Linked DNA regions of Homo sapiens: region 2 is linked to region 1. The links are contacts of gene promoters, found by promoter capture Hi-C in human tissues and cell types (Jung and others, 2019). All regions are on one chromosome and are shown on one strand. The core of a region is centred on a gene start or on the middle of the fragment in contact, and the rest is flanking DNA. Distances in the headings are between cores, read along the strand shown. Region 1 holds the start of MISP (mitotic spindle positioning). Region 2 holds the start of FGF22 (fibroblast growth factor 22).

Region 1 (6,920 bases), core at 2,358-4,857:
TCTTCTAGACGGGGCGAACCAGGGGTCATTGACCTGCCCCCTGCACAGGGCAGGGACCGAGTGAGCCACTCCTTGTCCCGAGCTCCCGCCCCCACTGGGCCCTCCTTCCTCCTGGTGCTAATTTGGGGACCCCAGGGGCCGCCCCCGGCCTCTTCTCCATCCTGCTTGGACCAGGGTCCTGGGTCTTCCCAACCATACCCCGAGATCAGGCCCCACCTGCCAGCTCTACTGGGCTTGGAGCACGTCCGGGCAGTGGAGGGAGGGACACAGCCTGGGACAGGAAGCCTCTTGGGTTGGAGCAGGAGACCCTCATTTGCCACCCAGACCAATGTGAGCCTGCCCCCAGCCCCCTCTCATTGGAAGTGGCAAGGGGCTTCCCTCCTGGGGGCAGCTACACTCGTCCCCAGAGGCACATTCGTGCACATTCTCACAGACACCGTCTCACACGTTGGCTTTGGACAACCAGGCCCCAACTTGGTCCCTGCCCTAGGGACCTCCAGCCTGGTGCCCAGTGCTCAGGCCACCTCCTGGTCCAGTCACCACCTGCAGCCTCGGCAGGGCAGGTACAGGGGCCACCTCGGATGGGAGCCTGGGTCCCTGCCTCCGCTCTGCCCCTGGGTGGCTGGGAGGAGAGGCCCTCTCGGGGGTGACCTGGGCGTCAGCCGTGGAACCCCCTCCTCCTCCCTGGAGTCTGCCTGAGTCCCTCGAGCCGCGAGCCTTCGCTGAAGTGCCCTTGCTATAACCCCCTCTGCTTCTGGTGTGTGACGAGGCCCCCGATGTTCTTGATTTTCCCAGAGAAGCAAATAAACAGCGTGAACAGCCCCAGTTCCTGGAGTTCTTGCCTTTCAACCTGGCGAGGAAGGCGTGGCCAGGCCAGGGGGTGGGGCCTGCCGGCCTTTGAGCCATTAAAGGGAGGCTGAGCAGGGTTGCGGTGTGCTGGCTTCACCTGCCTGCACCCGCTCACCCTGAGCGCCTTGGGGTGGTGGGAGGCGCTGGAATCCCCACTGTGCAGGTAAGGCCTGGCTGTAAGGGGCTGCTGTGGGGGGGCAGGACTGGCTTCCCGGGGGGCCCTCGGGTTCTGCGGCCGCCCCGTCCTGTCCTTTGTTCCTCCCTTTGCTGGGCTCACAGCCCCTGGGTGATGACAGAGGGTCCCCTGGACACCCACAAGCTCTGTAGAGAAGCCGGCCCCTGGGAAATACACAGGAGGCCTGGGGAGGAGGTGTCTGTAGAGACCAGTGTCATGCTCACGGGAAGGTGCTGCCCCGCCAGCCCCACTCTCTCACGCTGTAGTCTTGGAGAAGTCGCTGCCTCCTCTGGGCCTCAGTTTTCCCATCTGTAAAATAAGCCTTCGTGGCCGGGCACGGTGTTTCACACCTGCAATCCTAGTACTTTGGGAGGCCGAGGTGGGCGGATCACAAGGTCAAGAGATCGATACCATCCTGGCCAACATACTGAAACCCTGTCTCTACTAAAAATACAAAAACTTAGCCGGGCGTGGTGGCTCACGCCTGTAATCCTAGCTATTCAGGAGGCTGAGGCAGGAGAATCGCTTGAACCTGGGAGGCGGAGGCTGCAGTGAGCTGAGATCGTGCCACTGCACTCCAACCTGGGCGACAGAGCGAGACTCTGTCTCAAATAAAATAAAATAGGCCTTCGGAGCCCTGAGTGGGAGGCCAGCCTCAGCCTGGGCGTGGGACGTCTCCACAGTGCCCCCAGCTCATGGGCGATCCAGCCTCCACCCTGCTGGGGCCTCAGTTTTCCCCGATGAGGTGGTGAGTGTGGTGGAGAGCACTGCTGAGGGAACTCAGGTTCCAATTCCAGCCTAAACCCCCGCCATTCCTGAGGCGCGATTTTAAGCTTTCCGTACCTCCGTTTCCCTATCTACAAGCCAGGGAGAAAAGGACGTGAAGGGGGTGGCGGGAGGCGGCGGTGGGAGGCGCCGTGAGGCCGCGCACCCTGAGCTTTCACACACCCAGCAGCGTTAGGTGCCACGCTGTCCTTTGGGGGCCCTTTATCCAGATTTGTCCTTAAACACCCCCATCTTGGCCAGGCGCCGTGGCTCGCGCCTGTAATCCCAGCACTTTGGGAGGCTGAGGCGGGGGCATCACCTGAGGTCAGGAGTTCGAGACCAGCCTGGCTAACGTGGCAAAACCCTGTCTCTACTAAAAATACAAAAATAGCTGGGCGTGGTGGCTCATGCCAGTAATCCCAGCTACTAGGGAAGCTGAGGCAGGAGAATTGCTTGAACAGGGGAGGTTGCCGTGAGCCGAGATCGTGCCACTGCACTCCAGCCTGGGTGACAAGAGCGAGACTCCGTCTCAAAAAAAAAACACAAAAAAAGCACCCCCCTCCTGAGCAGCCCTGCTGGATTCGTAGCTGGGGGCCTTTTTACTCGAAGAAGAGACTGAGGTTCAGAGGGGCTCCACAAGCAGCCCCTCTGGCGTAGGTCAGGACAGAGCCCCAGCCTGGGGAACTGAAGTCCCTGCCCCCTCAGCTGTGTTCCCTGCCCTCATAGACGGCGCTAGGCCCAGTGGCCCGACTTCCCCACAGATGCTGGGCTCCCCACAGTCCCAGCAAGGCCTCTGCACCTTGACTAAGAATCCAGGAGGACCATGGGCGCCTGAGGGCCTCTGCGTCCCCATCTCTCGGGGTGGCCTGGGTCTTTTGACGGCCTCGTGCGGTTCTTTTTTTTTTTTTTTTTTTTTTTTTTTTGAGTTGGAGTTTTGCTCTTGTCGCCCAGGCTGGAGTGCAGTGGTGTGATCTCGGCTCACTGCAACCTCCAACTCCTGGGTTCAAGTGATTCTTCTGCCTCAGCCTCCCAAGTAGCTGGGATTATAATAGCGTGCCACCATACCCCGCTAAATTTTGTATTTTTAGTAGAGACGGGGTTTCGCCATGTTGGCCAGGCTGGTCTCGAACTCCTGGCCTCAAGTGATCCGCCCGCCTCGGCCTCCCAAAGTGCTGGGATTACAGGTGTGAGCCACCAAGTCCGGCCCCCTCGTATGGGTTTTTATGTGGATGGGGCCTAGGGAATTCCTCCCAGCAGCCCTGAGGGAGCCCGGGCGTGATGTTCCCCCACGTCCCGGAGGAGAAAACAGGGCTAAGAGAGGTCAGGTGGGATCAGAACCCAGGCCACACCAAACCCCCCCGAGTCTGCCAAACCTGGTTTATGCAAGAAGGGGGCCATCTAGGGGAGTTGCCCCAAGGGGTGGGCTGGGCCAGAAGGCACGGACGGGATTGGGACTCAGCCCCTCCGGCCCCCCAGGAGACACAGGCCACTGTGCACGCTGAGCTGCTGTGTGGCCCTGGACACCTGCTGACCCTCTCTGAGCGGTGCTGAGAGGCGGTGGGAGGGCCAGGCAGCCAAGGGAGGTTTCGGCTGAGTTCTGGCTCCTCGGGGCCACCTGGAGGCCCTGGGGGTGGAGGGGCAGCCGGCAGCGGGCACGGTGCCCGCCCTTGCCCAGCCTGGTATCCTCTTTCTCCCTCCTCCTCCTCTGGACTTTGTTTCCTGATCCCAGGTGGGGCTGGGGGGAGGGGGCACACCTGCCTCCCCTGGGTGGGGCCTCTGTTCCCTGGCAACCTGGCGGGCAGGGCGGAGCTGGGAGGCCTCTGTGCCCATCGAGGAGTCAGAGTGGAGGCTGCAGACTGTGGAGCCGGGAGCCGGCAGGTGAGGCTGGGGGCGCCCCGGGCCGGGCCGGGCGGGGATCCTGTGTGGGGCGGTTGGATCCACATTTGGCGTGGGAGCGTCATGTGTCTGTGGGCGGGGTCTGCTTGCCTGGCGGCACTTGGGATCCAGGGAGGCCCCCTGCCCCACCCCGTCACCCTCGGAGCCTCCCTGAGGCACCTTTCCCTCTGCCCCCGCTAGGTACTCTGGGGCCTCAAGGGCACCCACTGGGAGAGCAGAGAGGCCCTTGTCCCTGAACTCTGCTGGGGCTTTTGAACCCCAAATCCCAGAGCCCTCCAAGGGAGGGGCCGGGTTGGCACCCCCATGGTCAGAGGCCAGAGGGGCCCCTCCATGGTTCTGGGAATTCCAGAGGCTTCTGGAGAGATGCTTATCCGTCCCACCAGGCCCCTGACTGGGAGGCTCTGGGCAGTAAACACCCCCGTGGGGCTGGGGGCTGGTTTGGGGACACGGAGGAGGGGTGGCTGAGTACAGGCGGAAGGAGTCTCAGGCCGGGGCTGGGGACTTGGCCTGGGTCCTCGGGTGGGGGTGAGGTGGTAGCCTGGGATCCCGGGCAGCCAGCAGGGACTCGGCCCAGCGTCTGCCGGTGGAGCTCCGCCCAGGAGCCCAAGGAGCTGAGATGACTCAAGGGTGACTGCAACCCTGAGGGATGGGAAAAAGGAACGGGGCCCTCCCTTCTGCATGGCCTCCTTGTCTGAGTCTCGGCCCCACAAGGGAACCTTTGCCCCTCACATAGAGCCAACTGGCTGATGAGGAAGGAGGTGTGGCACCAGGGTCCATAAACCCAGTTTCATTCTGGTATCAACAGAGTTCAGGGTGAGGCTGGGAGGAGCAACCCAGGGGGCTTCCTGTAGGAGGGGGTGATTTGGAGCAAAGTCTGAAAACTGGCTTCAGACACTTGCTCTGTCATCGCTGTGTGACCTCAGATGAGCAGGTTCTCCTCTCTGGGTCCCAGCTCCCTCTCTCGAAAACCGGAGTCGAAAACGGTTCCAAGGTGTTGCAGGAAGAGTCTCAGGACGCCGAGGTCCTTAGCCACCGCCGGGCCTTGCAGGGGCCATCTTCCGTCCTGGGGCTCTTCCCCCGAGGGCAGCGCCGCTGCCCAAGAATGCCGGCCATGAGAGCCGCCGTGGATCCAGGGGTTTTTTTGGCCGACACAGTGAAACCCCATCTCTACTAAAAATACAAAACTTAGCCGGGCGTGGTGGCGGGCGCCTGTAGTCCCAGCTACTTGGGAGGCTGAGGCAGGAGAATGGTGTGAATCCGGGAGGCAGAGGTTGCAGTGAATGGAGATCGCGCCACTGCACTCCAGCCTGGGCGACAGAGGGAGACTCTATCTCAAAAAAAAAAGCGGGGGGCGGGGGTGGGCACTGAGGCACAGGCAGCAGGGGAGGGGGCCCAGTGGCCTTGAACCCAAGAGCTGGACCCCAGGCCCCACCCGCTGGCTTCAGTGAATCACTGGGGAGGAATGAGCAGAGGAGGATGCGTGCCTTCATCCCCACCCAACCCCGACCCCACTGGGAGACCCGGCACCTGCTCGAGGCTGGGCGGACAGCTCCCTTTCTCCCGGAGTTGACGTCTGATGTGGGTTATAAATCCCGCTGTGTAAACGTCTGTCCACTCACTGGGCAAACATTCCTACACCCGCCCTCCCCGGGGAGCTCCAGGGTGCAGGGCGTGGACCTGCCCAGCCCTTCAGGGCCAGAAGGCACGGTGGAGCCGGTCTGCATTCCGCAATGAGCCCGACCCCCACGTCTGAGCAGCTGGGATGAGTGGTGTTTGCCCAGCCAGTATTTATTAGGCGCCTGCTGTATACCAGACTCTGGGCTGCAGGAAGGGTGCTGACCTGTGGCCACAGCAGGCGAGAGCGAGGCCTGGGCTGACGGTTTCGGGTGGGAGAAGGCAAGGCCTTCCGTGAGCTGGGCAGGCGGCGTCCACGGAGGAGGAGGCCTCGGGTCAGGGGAGCCATCTGTGCGTCACGCTTTGGGAGGAAGCTCAGCTGTTTGTGTGGGATTTATTCACCAATGCCGCCTGGTTTTCAATGTTTCCCCTATTTTAGTTTCTGACATTTGATACGCGCGGAAGATTGCATGACACATTGCGTGTAGTTTCAACACGGCTCCCCACGGTCTCTCCACTTTATGCTGTTTGATGCCACTTTCCAGTTCAGAGAGGGGCTAAGTTTTTCTTTTTTTTTCTTTTTTTCTTTTTTTTTTTTTTTGAGGCGGAGTCTAGCTCTGTCACCAGGCTGGAGTGCAATGGTGCGATCTCAGCTCCCTGCAAGCTCCACCTCCCGGGTTCACAGCATTCTCCTGCCTCAGCCTCCTGAGTAGCTGGGACTACAGGCGCCCGCCAGCACACCCGGTTAATTTTTTTTGTATTTTTAGTAGAGATGGGGTTTCACCATTTTAGCCAGGATGGTCTCGATCTCCTGACCTCGTGATCCGCCAAAGTGCTGGGATTACAGGTGTGAGCCACTGTGCCTGGCCGACCCTGTCTGTTTAAAAACAAAAAAAAATGCTGCTGGTTGGTGTAAAGGCAGCAGATCTAAATAATAGCCTTGGTGGCCCGGGAGCGACAGTCCTGCTTTGTGGGGGTTTGTTTTTCTTTTGAGACAGGGTCTTTCTCTGTCACCCAGGCTGGAGTGCAATGGCACAATCTCAGCTCACCGCAACCTCCACCTCACAGGTTCAAGTGATTCTCCCACCTCAGCCTCCCAAGTAGCTGGGATTACAGGCCTGAGCCCCTGTGCCCAGCCGACAGTGCTTTTTTTAGGAGTCAGGAGCTCAAGCTTTTGAGATCCCTGTGTCTTCAGGTGAGGCTTCCTTTCCTCAACTATGAAAGATGATGTCTGCTGGACACGGTGGCTCACGCCTGTAATCCCTGCACTTTGGGAGGCCGAGGCAGGCGGATCACCTGAAGTCAGGAGTTCAAGACCAGCCTGGCCAACATGGTGAAACCCGTCTCTACTAACAATACAAAAATTAGCCGGGTGTCCTGGCTGGGCGCGGTGGCTCACGCCTGTAATCCCAACACTTTGGGAGGCCGAGGCGGGAGGATCACGAGGTCAGGAGATCAAGACCATCCTGGCTAATATGGTGAAACCCCGTCTCTACTAAAAATACAAAAAATTAGCCAGGCGTGGTGGCGGGCGCCCGTAGTCCCAGCTCTAGGGAGGCTGAGGCAGGAGAATGGCGTGAACCTGGGAGGCAGAGCTTGCAGGGAGCCGAGATCGCGCCAC
Region 2 (6,436 bases), core at 3,892-6,391, 110 kb before region 1:
AGGCTGAGGCAGGAGAATCGCTTGAACCCGGGAGGCGGAGGTTGCAGTGAGCCAAGATCTCGCCACTGCACTCCAGCCTGGGTGACAGAGCGAGAACCTGTCTCAAAAAAAAAAAAGTGCAAAGGGAGGTCAGTTCAGTGCCTCAGGCCTGTAATCCCAGCACTTTGGGAGGCTGCGGCGGGAGGATCGCTTGAGCCCAGGAGTTCCAGACAAGCCTTGGGCAACCGAGATACTGAGACCCAGTCTCCACCAAAGGAAAAAAAGAAATTAGCCAGGCATGGTGGTGCACACCTGTGGTCCCAGATACTCGGGAGGCTGAGGCAGGAGGACTGCTTGAGCCCAGGAGGTTTAGACTGCAGTGAGCTGAGATGGCGCCACTGTACTCCAGCCTGGGTTGACAGAACAGGACCCTGTCTCAAAACAAAACAAGTGCAAAGGCCCTGAGGCAGGAACAAGCGTGGACAGAGGAGCAATTTGAGCAGAGTGGGGCTGGGGAGAGGGAGCAAAGATGTAGCTGGGGCTCAGTTAGGGGGCCTGACCACACGGGGGCTCGGGGGCCTCAGCTCAAGCTATCCTCCATCCCCAAACCCTGGCACTTCAGTTTCCCCATCAGCCCAGAACGAGGACTCGACCTCACTCTGGAAGGGCCTGGCAGCCTCCTTACAGCACATTCCAGACGCTGCTGCCGACGCCTGCGTGAGCGCACTGATGCCACCGGCTGGGAATGTTTTCGACAGACGGCAGCACCCTCCCTCACCTGCCTCAGTCCACCTCAGGGTGCCCCAGCGGGCTGTGACCTCAGACCTCACCCACTACTGGGGTCACCTGCCTGGCCCTGAATCAGCCAGGCCTGGTGTGCCAAGACCTACAGACACCCCCTGCACCCCTGCAGGCTGGCAGAGCCAGAAACTTGGGTGGAAACCGACTTCTGAACTATTTCACCATTCCTTATGCGTTAGTCTTTTCTTTTATTTGATGAGATCCCAGCACTTTGGGAGGCCGAGGCGGGCGGATCACGTGAGGTCAGGAGTTTGAGACCAGCCTGGCCAACATGGTGAAACCCCGTCTCTACTAAAAATACGAAAATTAGCCGGGCATGGTGGCCTGTGCCTGTAATCCCAGCTACTCAGGAGGCCAAGGGAGGAAAATCACTTGAACCTGAGAGGTGGAGGTTACAGTGAGCCAAGATCGCACCACTGCACTCCAGCCTTGGGCAATGTAGCCAAACCCCATCACTACAAATAATACAAAAAAATTTTGTTGGCTGTGATGGTGCCTGCCTGTGGCCCCATCTACTTGGGAGGCTGAGGTGGGAAGATGTAGAATTGCTTGAGCCAGGAGGCAGAGGCTGCAGTGAGCTGTGATTGAGCCACTGCACTCCAGCCTGGGCGACAGAGCGAGACCCTGTCTCAAAAAAAAAAGAACATAATCTGGGTTTTGGAATAAGACAGCAGTTTCTGAAACAGCTCATTGCCCAAATTCCAGCCTCGCAACTCTGTAGCCGCCACCACCCCCCAGCCCCACCATTTATTTTAACTACATCTGTCTCCACCACTCCTGTATTAAGTAAATGCAATATTGGCTGGTCATGGTGGCTCATGCCTGTAATTCCAGCACTTTGGGAGGCTGAGGCAGGCAGATCCCCTGAGGTCAGGAGTTCGAGACTGGCCTGGCCAACGTGGTGAAACCCTGTCTCCACTAAAAATTCAAAAATTAGCCGGACGTGGTAGTGGGTGGTGCCTGTAATCCCAGCTACTTGGGAGGCTGAGGTAAGAGAAATGCTTGAATCCAAGAGACTGAGGTTGCAGTGAGCTGAGATCTCGCCGCTGCACTCCAGCCTGAACGACAGAGCGAGACTCCGTCTCAAAAATAAATTAATAAATACAACATTAATTATTTTTCTTGCTTAAGTTTTACGAAGAGACTTAATATCACCATCAAAAGTGGGAAACCATATATCTGGCCGGGCGTGGTGGCTCCCGCCTGTCATCCCAGCACTACGGGAGGCCGAGGCGGGCGGATCCCCTGAGGCCGGGAGCTGGAGACCAGCCTGGCTAACATGGTGAAACCCTCATCTCCAATAAAAATAACAAAAATTAGCCGGGCATGGTGGGTGCCTGTAATCCCAGCTATTCAGGAGGCTGAGGCAGAAGAATCACTTGAACCCGGGAGGCGGAGGTTGCAGGGAGCCGAGATCACACCACTGCCCTCCGGCCTGGGCGACAGAGCGAGACTCTGTCTAAAAACAAAACAAAACAAAACCCAACCAAGCAAACCCCACAGAGTCGAGAATCGCTAGATGGAAGGGGATGGCCCAGGTCCCTGGAGCCCCTGTGACAAATTACCACAAACTCGGTGCCTTAAAGCAACGTTCATTTTCTTACATTTCTGGAAATGAAAAGTCCAAAATCAGGACTGCGGGGCTGAAGTCAAGGTGTGTGGAGGCCTCGCTCCCTCCAGAGGCCCTGGGGCTCCTTCCTGCCTCTCCCAGCTTTTGAAGGCTCCAGGTGTGCTTGGCCTGCGGCCACATCACTCCCGTCTCGGTCTCTGTGGTCGCACTGCAGCCTCCTCGTCTGCCTGTGTGAAATCTCCTCCTGTCTCCGTATTGTGACCGCGTTTAGGATGCCCCAGGACAATCTTCTCCATATCGTTCAGATCTTCATGGTGTCAATATATTGAGACTCTTTTTCCAAATAAGGCAAATGTCACATTCTAGGGATCAGGGTGGGGACTTACCTTTGGGCCAACCACAGAGGCTACAAAGAGGAAGACACCACTCAATACAAAGCGTGCGCCAGCCCAGCCCTGATCGGTGTTTGTTGTTGTTGTTTTTGTTTGAGACAGAGTCTCGCTCTGTCGCCCAGGCTGGAGGGCAGTGGCATGATCTCAGCTCATTGCAACCTCCGCCTCCTGGGTTGTATAGATTCTCCTGCCTCAGCCTCCTGAGTAGCTGGGATTACAGGCGTGAAAAGGAGCAAGGCTCTGCCCCAGCCACAGCGCGGATGCACCTTGAGGATGTCATGCTCAGTGAAAGACGCCAGACACAGAAGGACACACAGTGTGTGATCCCCTTTATATGAAATGTCCACAACAGGCCCATCCACAGAGGCAGGAAGGGGATGTGTGGGTGCCGGGGGCTGGCAGAGGGGATGAGTGACAGCTGATGGGGCTTCTTCTTGCGGTGATGGAATCTTCTGGAACTAGACAGTCGTGGTGGTTGCACAACTCTACGAGGTACTAAAATCACTGAACTGGCTGGGTGCAGTGGCTCATGCCTGTAATCCCAGCACTTTGGGAGGCAGAAGCAGGTAGATCACGAGGTCAGGAGTTTGAGACCAGCCTGGCCAACATGGTAAAACTCTGTCTCTACTAAAAATACAAAAATTAGCTGGGTGTGGTGGCAGGTGCCTGTAATCCCAGCTACTCAGGAGGCTGAGGCAGGAGAATCGCTTGAACCAGGGAGGCAGAGTTTGCAGTGAGCCGAGATCGCACCACTGCACTCCAGTCTGGGTGACAGAGCCAGACTCCGTCTCAAAGAAATAATAATAAAATAAAATCACTGAACTGTACAGTGTAAGTGGGTGAATTGTGTGGTATATGAGTGATGTTTCCGAGGTGTCATTAAAGAAACTCAGACGCCTGGGGTGGGGCCAGTCTCACCGCTGTGGGTCCCATCCCCATCATTTCTCACAAGGCCCTCAGATCACCCTTCCGCGGTGGGGGGCGGACACTCTAAGAAGGGAAGACCTGGGCTCCTGCTGGCGAGAAGGCGGTGGACATTTCTTCAGTGTCTGGTGCCGCGCCCTCTGCCCAGCGTGCTCCGTGGAGGGTCTCATTGTCTTCCTCCAGACGTCTCTTTACTGGCCCATTTTACAGAGGCGGAACCGAAGCTTGGGGTGTTGGCCACAGGGCTCTAGTGTGGGAAGCCAGGCCAGGCTGGACCTCAGCCATGGGGACCCCTGTCCCTGAGACTGTGGCACCTGCCACACCCTCTGTGTGACCCGCCTAAGCCAGGAAGAGAGGGTCAGGAGATGCCTGAGCCACCAAGAAGGCATCCCAGCGTCCAGCCAGACCGGTTATCCCTCCAGAGGGCTCCCCGGCAGGACAGGCTGGTCGCCATGTCTTCAGCCTGGTGCTATTTAAAGGTGGGTGCCACCTGGGGCTGTGGCCGCAGGGCCAGGACTGGGCTGCTGGGAGCTGTGTCCCCACAGCGGAGGTCGCCGCCCCTCTCAGGCCTCGGTTTCCCCAGTTGTCAATGCCTCCACTTGGCTGTGAGTCTGTGAGGGTCACTGTGCTCACCTTTTGGGGCCCAGCGCATGGGGCAGGCAGAGGAAGGGTGGGGGCCAGCCGCCTTGCTGGGTGGTTCCCCGTGGGGCCTGGGGTATGGCTCTAAGGGAGGAGCAAGTGTGGGTGCGAATGGGGCCGCCCCATTCCTGCCGCCTCCGACGTGCCCCGCCAGCCGGCCACCGACAGGTCTACGTGGCTATCCTCCCTCCTGCCCACCTACCTGCCCAAACACACGTCCCCAGTCGTCACCTGCCCACCCACCCGCGCATTCCCACACCCTTGTGGGCCTGGCTTTCGGGAAACTACAATTTGCGGGGAGAGAAGTCCCACGAGGGCATGCCCCGGAGCCTGGCTGGTCCCACGGCTGACGCACGCGGCAGGACCTCCCGTGTCCATCTCTGTCCCCAAGCATCTCCGCCTCTGCCCCTCTCTGTCTCTGTGTCTCTCTCGTCTCTCCCGGTCATCTTCCTTGTGTCTCTTGACTGCCGCCGTCTTTCTGTCTCTGTCTCCCTCCGGGTCTCTGTCTCCCTCCAGGTCTCTGCGGCCCGCGTCTCACACTCCCGCCCCCGCAACCCGAGGTCCTAGCCCGCCCGGGGACTCGGCTGACTCACGGACACGCCCCGCGAGACAAACAACAAACGCGCGGAGGCCGAGCGCGGAGTCCCGCACGGCCGCGCCCCTGTGCACCTGGCCCCCGCCCCCGAGACGTCCCATTGGCCGGCGCCCTAGCCTGGTCCCGCCCAAGTGGACCCCGCCCCCGCCCCGAGGCACCCCATTGGCCGGCGTCCCCGCCCCAGCGAACCCGGCCCCGCCCCCGAGGCGCCCCATTGGCCCCGCCGCGCGAAGGCAGAGCCGCGGACGCCCGGGAGCGACGAGCGCGCAGCGAACCGGGTGCCGGGTCATGCGCCGCCGCCTGTGGCTGGGCCTGGCCTGGCTGCTGCTGGCGCGGGCGCCGGACGCCGCGGGAACCCCGAGCGCGTCGCGGGGACCGCGCAGCTACCCGCACCTGGAGGGCGACGTGCGCTGGCGGCGCCTCTTCTCCTCCACTCACTTCTTCCTGCGCGTGGATCCCGGCGGCCGCGTGCAGGGCACCCGCTGGCGCCACGGCCAGGACAGTGAGTGCGGGGCGGCGGGGGCCTGGGGTGGGGAGGCGGCGGGTGACGGCAACGCGGCCGCCGTCTTCACGGTGACCTGCGCCCGCGGGGGAGTCCCGGAGGCTCCTCTGTGCAGCCTCGGCCTCAGTTTCCGTGGTCTGTGAGATGGGTGCAGCCTGCCTGGTGGGAGGGTTGCACTGTTAAAGCGAAGGCTGCAGCGGCGGACCCGGCTCAGGGGCAGAGAAGCGTCCGTGTGGTACAACCCTGTGGGTGGGGCCACCCATCTGCAGGTGGGAAACTGAGGCTCCAGAGGGGCTGGGGCAGGCCCAGCTGCATGGCGGAAGCGGCGGGGGGCTGACCTCCGGACTCCTGACATCACAGAATCCAGTCAGGGCTGCCTGAGTCGGGGCCCCCTCTGCTTCTTCCCAGACACCCCATCTGGCAGGTGAGGACAAGGAGGCACACAGAAGGGATGGGACCTGCCCAGGGTCACACTGACAGGGGTGGCGGAGCTGGGTCCCCACAGGGCCCAGGACGTCACGGAGCGGGCGTCTCTGTCCCCAGGGTCTGCCGAGCACACTGAGGTAGGCCCTCAGTGTTTGTGGAATGTCAGGAGCAAGAGGAGAGGCTGGGCACAGCAGGGGATGTGGGTACCTGGAGGCCAGGGGAGTCGGTGTCCCCGCCGGGCGGGGGGCACTGGGAAGGGGGCCCGGGCCCGCTGGCTGCCGCCTGAATCACCACCATCAGGGCAGGTAATCACCCCCTGTCCTTCCCACCGCTTTCATCTGGGCGCCAAGGCCCTCATTAGGCCGCACGTGACGAGGGCGGACAGGGGACTGGCTGGGCCGGTCCATCCATGGCGGGCATGGCCAGGCGGGGTGGCCTCGGGCCGGGGCAGAGGCCTGGCTCCGCTGCCTGACCTGGAACAGTCTCTGCCTCTCTCCAAGCCTCGGTTTCCCCAGCTGGACGGTGATGGGGGTGAGGGCTAGCTGAGGGCTCTCCTGCCCTTCGTGCATTCGCTGGTCACTAATCGGGCACCTTGTGGGTGCTGTGCT

Evidence for each region. Contacts are between HindIII fragments. The study calls those that stand out against the background at their distance.
Region 2: a contact is called between the fragment with the promoter of FGF22 here and the fragment with the promoter of MISP in region 1, in 1 of the 25 tissues and cell types used here (lymphoblastoid cells).

The regions. Positions count from the first base shown.
Region 1 is chr19:747,505-754,424 of GRCh38, forward strand. MISP (mitotic spindle positioning) reads left to right here and starts at 3,608. Exons shown (of 5, transcript NM_173481.4): 1 at 3,608-3,667. It overlaps PALM (paralemmin), which reads left to right. Exons shown (of 9, transcript NM_002579.3): 9 at 1-825. The HindIII fragment of the contact is 28,409 bases long and covers 1-6,920 here.
Region 2 is chr19:634,738-641,173 of GRCh38, forward strand. It overlaps FGF22 (fibroblast growth factor 22), which reads left to right and starts at 5,142. Exons shown (of 3, transcript NM_020637.2): 1 at 5,142-5,402. The coding sequence starts at 5,189. It overlaps LOC105372234 (a long non-coding RNA gene), which reads left to right. Exons shown (of 2, transcript XR_936226.2): 2 at 1-3,569. RefSeq lists enhancers at 2,324-2,383, 3,758-4,483 and a silencer at 4,825-5,314. The HindIII fragment of the contact is 14,968 bases long and covers 1-6,436 here.